2 separate regions of the Homo sapiens genome follow, and region 1 is linked to region 2. The links are contacts of gene promoters, found by promoter capture Hi-C in blood cells and fetal thymus (Javierre and others, 2016). All regions are on one chromosome and are shown on one strand. The core of a region is centred on a gene start or on the middle of the fragment in contact, and the rest is flanking DNA. Distances in the headings are between cores, read along the strand shown.

What was found. The method cuts DNA at HindIII sites, captures the fragments that hold promoters and counts their contacts. A CHiCAGO score of 5 or more calls a contact.
Region 1: a contact is called between a fragment that was not itself captured here and the fragment with the promoter of ARL15 in region 2, in 1 of 17 cell types (total CD4 T cells). The highest score is 6.1, in total CD4 T cells.

Annotation. Positions count from the first base shown.
Region 1 is chr5:53,097,815-53,100,514 of GRCh38, forward strand. MOCS2 (molybdenum cofactor synthesis 2) reads right to left here. Exons shown (of 7, transcript NM_004531.5): 6 at 2,597-2,700; 7 at 1-853. The coding sequence ends at 788. Among named protein-coding and RNA genes, the nearest start is that of MOCS2, 11 kb to the right of the region's middle. The HindIII fragment of the contact is 2,699 bases long and covers 20-2,700 here.
Region 2 is chr5:54,309,255-54,312,073 of GRCh38, forward strand. ARL15 (ARF like GTPase 15) reads right to left here and starts at 1,319. Exons shown (of 5, transcript NM_019087.3): 1 at 1,178-1,319. The coding sequence starts at 1,225. The HindIII fragment of the contact is 4,353 bases long and covers 1-2,819 here.

The sequences.
Region 1 (2,700 bases), core at 119-2,618, 1.2 Mb before region 2:
GTCTATCAAAATACTATAAAGCTTAACCAGTTAAAAATTGGGGCATTGTTTACCTAAACATTTCAACACAAACCACCTTGTTGCTAGTTAGCTTTATGACAATTTTGTGCTGATTTGTATATTGATACAAAATTAACAACTAATAAAAAACAACAAAAAGTTTTCTGGTAAGATTATAGATTCTGAAATCCCAGAAATCTCCATAATGAGAACTATTTTAGGCAATTTAAAAAAAAAGAAAATACTCTTTTTAAACTTTTGAAATCATGGGTTTTAGTTTATTATTTTTAATATATTTCTGAAAATGTATAATATCAAGACTGTCTGATAATGCTTTTTTAATACTTTCCAGTTCTGCCAACATTCCTGTCATGCATCCTTAATAACAATGCTCTCCCAGAACCGGGATGGGGGGCGGTGAGGTGGGGTTGGTGGGGGAGTACGTTTCTGAGCTAGTTAAAGTCACTGAGGAGGGCCCATACCTCAATGTGTGTTGAGTTACAATTAGAAATTAGTCATGGAAGGACATGTCTACCACAGATATCTTTCCTCACATTTAAATTATTCCATTTCTTCCTACAGTCCTCCTTCTATCTTTAGTTCCATTTTAAATAACCCTTCATCCTACATACCCATTTATCTTGCTTCCTTTTTCTCCCTTTTGTCCCACTAGTATAAGAGATTGTGCTTCAGTAAACTATCCTGATGTGGAGAGAAAAAAATCAAAATGTGATCAATAATAATAGTTTAACAAAGTTAAGATTGCATGCTCTAAAAACATAAGTGATTAACTGTTGGATGCCCAAAAGCACTCTTTGTTTCCTTTCCAAGTTGATGACTCTTCGTATATTTCCTAAAAAACAAAATCATAACAGGTATTAAAAATAGACCATTCTACTATACGAATATAAAATATATTTGAATAAATCAGACAAATGAATATCACATCTATTTCAATGGCTCCTCTTTTAACAATCATGACGAGAGACATCATGGGCAAGGTTACATAGGGGAAGACAGAAAGTCTTTAGTTTTAAACATTTTTTTTTCTTTCCAAACATACCTACTACTTCAACATTTCTAAATATGCTTTTCCAAAGGCAGATATCTTCATTAGCTGTTGAATTAAGTGGTCACCTCTCAGAAGTTCCTAAACAAGTTTGAGCTGCCCTCTGGTATGAGCTGTTCTTTGACATATGCACTCTACCTACCTGCCACCCTTCCCTATATCACAGATGATCTCAAAGCACAGGCCGAGACTAGAACCAGACTAGAAGTTACATAGTTTGTGGAAAGGAGGGGTAAGGAGAACATATCACTTTCTCTTCTCACTCTCTAGTCACATTCCATTTCTGTAGGGAGAGGAATTCAAATTCAACTGTCCTCTGAACTCCTGCACTTCCTCGGACTCTCTATGGACAAACAAAAGCAAAATACGAAGCCCAACTAGTCCTCAAAGCATGAAAACAAGAATATGCCCCAACTCCTGCTCATTACCTGTATTTCTGGGGTTGCTCCCATCTACTTTCTGTCCACTGACTGTGCACCCTTTCCTCCCTGGTGAAGAAAGCTACCCCTGCCTTCCAGGCTTGCAGCTGATCTTAGAATGCTCTTCCTACCTCTCGCTCTCTGGGGGCCTGCCTCCTGTTGTGTCAGCCTTGTTCACAGCAAGGGAACAATATATCTGAGCTTCACTAAGTTTCCTTTCACACATATTCTATCCTCTAATCCCTACGTATTCTAACAATGGGCTTCAATTTTATTCTGAAAACATGGTCATCAAATTTCCCAGGCCCTGGTTATGAGTCCAACTTGCTTATTTCTACCACTGACTGAGGCAGGTCCCCTGGGAAGGAGGGGAGAAGTGCCCTTTAAAAGCCCTGGCTCTCTGCTCTGGTCTTTTCATCTACTGAGCTGTTCATTAACTCCTCAGCTTTCTGTCAACCACAACGCTGTAGGCAATTCTAGACAATTCTAGACATTGAATGTGCAACCACAGAACAATCCCACTGTTAATGTTACTACACCAGGGGAGAAACTAGGGAGTTGGGCCTTTTCATCCCATCAGAATGCTCTATTTAACCAGAGAATTACTTGCCCTTATTGACAGAAAACATGCCAGAAGTTCCTATTTCTGTTTTTAAATCCACTCACTGCATTTTCTCAGAGGGAGCAATATCTCACCATTTTTTTTTCTTCCCTAAAAAGGACCTCTAGGAAAAGCCTCTTTCACTTTAAAGAATTTCTATTTTAGCCATTACCTAAATAGCTAATGCATTATTCTCACTCTCCAACAGAAAGACCCTCTAATTCAAGGGAATTATAATCCAAGGAAAATAACTTCATGTATGAACCCCTCCAACAGTCCAGACTAGGAATTCTCACTGTTATCACTCATTGAGGCTTACTGTGTGCCATGCATTCTTTGGGGCACATATTTTTCATGCTTAACAAATCTTGGAAAGAAGATATTTCACAGATAAAGAAAACAAGATACTACAGTCAGTAAAAAGTCCATAAATATGGGGGGATTTATCTAAAAATTCCTGAGAAAAATCAGGTCCACATGCTAAAATGTGTTATTTTCTTAACTTACCTTTTTCCATATGGGCACCTTGGCTTTTAAAGTATCAATGGCATAGCTCACAGCTTCAAGAGATGCAGCTCTGTGGGCTGAGGACACAGCAATGATTATGCTTG
Region 2 (2,819 bases), core at 69-2,568:
CAGTCACCATCCTTTCCCACAAGACCATCAAGCTCTGAAGCATTAGGAGAAACATTTTCTTTATGTACACTAAAATAAGCCCAAATACACAGATAACAGCACAAAGCCGGTCCGGCGTTTCTTGGCCATCAAAGCATGCACAGACTTTCTCAGTACAGCCTTAAGTGTAATTCCTAGAAGGCACTGGCAAATCTCTGCCAGGCCAATCTGCAGTCGAAAACCGAGTGCATGTGTCCAACAAGATGACAGGAGGGTCAATGTTTCTAACCGTCTACTTCAACTCTGCATGGCAATAGCGGTTCTGCCCAACATGGTAAACACAATAATCGTATAGGATCGAACACAAGTCTCTGTAAATGAGGATCCCCTTAAACGCAAACAAGCAACTCTGGGGAAATATAATTTCTGGAACAAAACATGGTGCTCGCATAATTCCACAAAGACACATAGAAGTCCATTTTTAAAATGATGTTCGGTCCCAGCACTGTGCTGACACTTTTCCCACCTAAACTTCTCAGCACAAGCCTGGCCTAAACAGCCGGGTTCCAATCCGTGCACAGTGGAACCGCGGCACGCACCCAAGACCGGAATGGTGGGGCTATACCTGTCCCTACTCAGTCCTGTTCGTGCCAGCCTGCGAGGTAGTTTAGACCCGTCTGCTTTATGGTAATGTGCTTTTAAAACCCCGCCACGACCGAGGTCATAGCTTTAGAGATTTAATAACAATCAAATGACCAGGGCTGCTGGGCACTTAGTGAGCCATTCTGGTTATGGCTCTTTAATAGCACCTGGAGTTCTGCTCCAGGGAGAGAGGAAAACTCCTGCTCCCCCGGAAAGAAAGTCCTCTGCGGAGAGCGCAGAGGGAAGCCAGGAAGCCGATCGCGGGCAGGGGACGCGCCGCCGCGGCCGCCCCATCTCTCAAGCAGCCCCAGCGCGACCCTCGCCCTGCAGCCGTGCTGGCCCAGGCCGCACCTTTACCTGTCAGCTCCACCACCCACCCGCCCTGGAGGCTGCCCCTCCGAGTCCAGGGAAAGGCTTACCAGCCGGCTGCGGGAGAAAGAACCCCAGAGGCATCCTATCCCAAAGAAAGAAAGCAAAAAGGCTGCTCCTCAAGGCAGGGGGCCATCGGGCACGCCGAGATCCGAGAGGCGACATGCCACCCCTGCCCTGCACCTACCAGATAATCCATGTACAGAAACGCCTCAGTTATTCGGAGATCAGACATCCGGCAGCCTAAAGCATCCGGAACGGCTCCGAACCCGGAAAAAAAAAGCAGCGTCTCTGGCTGCGAGCGAGCAGCTCCTGAAAAAGCCAGCAACAGCGAAAATAGCCGAAAGCAGCCGACTAGCCGGAGATTACACAAGGGGCGCGGCGATTGGCCAGGCGGGCGGGCAGAAGGAAAGAAGCGTGCTCATTGGCTGCGGCGCCTATAAAAGGCAGGCCCCAGCTGGTGGCAGGAGAGAAACGCGGGAGTGGTGGGGGATGTGGGTTCCTGTGTGCTGAGCGGAGGAGCCGGGGTGGGGGCGGTGCAAGCGGAAGAAAGAGCCAAGAGAGCGGAAAATCGGCTGGTGCTGTCGCCGCCCGAGTTTTGTGTTTCCACAGCTTTCCAGTTGGGTACAACGGAGCCGAACTCCGTGTTCCCGGGCTGGAGAGCCTTGGTGTCCCCGCCAACCCCCAGTAGGAAGCGAGCGCTGTAACATGGGAGGCGTGGTCGCCACTGATCTTGTCTCCCCCCAGAGCCTTCCTAAAGGCTCTGCCGCCACGAGACTGCACCACCGGGAAAGAAGTGTGTGAAAGTGTACTCCGTAAACAGGCAATCCTGTACGCGACTTAGGGGCAGAAAGACCCTCCGCACTTTTATCATTTGAAAGTAAGGTGGACGATTCCAGCCTGGTGTCCCTGAGGGTACACACAGGCCCCCCGCGCAGCCAGAGGTGACTCAGGAACCCCCCTTCCAACCCCTGCGTAGAACGCCGAACAGTCTTCGGAGAATTCGCTTTCCTCCACGTGAAAAGGAAAAGAAAAACATTTGAGGAGTCGCAGTAGTCACTTGTACTCCCCAAACACACGGGAAGAAGTTGATCAGTTTGCATGCTTGGAGTCAAATTACGCTCAGCACAAATCCAACGCCCCTGAATTAAATGAGCAGTAGAAGCTCTCTGCAAAAAACACAACAGTATTTGTGACCCGGTATTATTTCAGGAGGTAAAAACATCTATAAGCAGATGCATTTGGGACGTATGCATTTCCTGGTAATGTCAATATCGCATTAAGCTAGTGGGTTTGGGCAGGGAAAGCCTGAATCGGACAAGAAGCTGGCTTTTTTTTTTTTTAGGCTATAAATAACCAGACCATGCCAGACACATGTTCTTAGGCTATGTTCTTAGGCTCAGGTGATTGGAGTGCCCCCCCCCCCATCCCCACCCTCAGGGCTTAGGGAGAATGGAAGATAAGGTGGATGCTGTCACCTGTATTAATAGTTAGGGCTTGCATACATACAGTAAAGTTTCAAGAGTGAAACTTCATCGACTGAACTCTTTATGAAGTGACTGCCTGACTCTACACGCGATGTTTTAGGAGTTGAATTTTTACTTTCCCCCTGACACCTTTCTTTTTTGTATCCTCAAGAAACAAATTTCCGTACCGTAAGTTTACCTGGGACTACCAAAACAGTTCTGTTAGATGACCGTGGAATTCACCCCAAATGTGCACATAACCAATAAGGGCGAGGCAGCCCCCTAGAGGGAGCTGTAGGTTGATGAGCCAAGTGATTTTAGGTATGCAGTCTAATTTCCAAACCTGTTTCCTCAGCTGCAAAA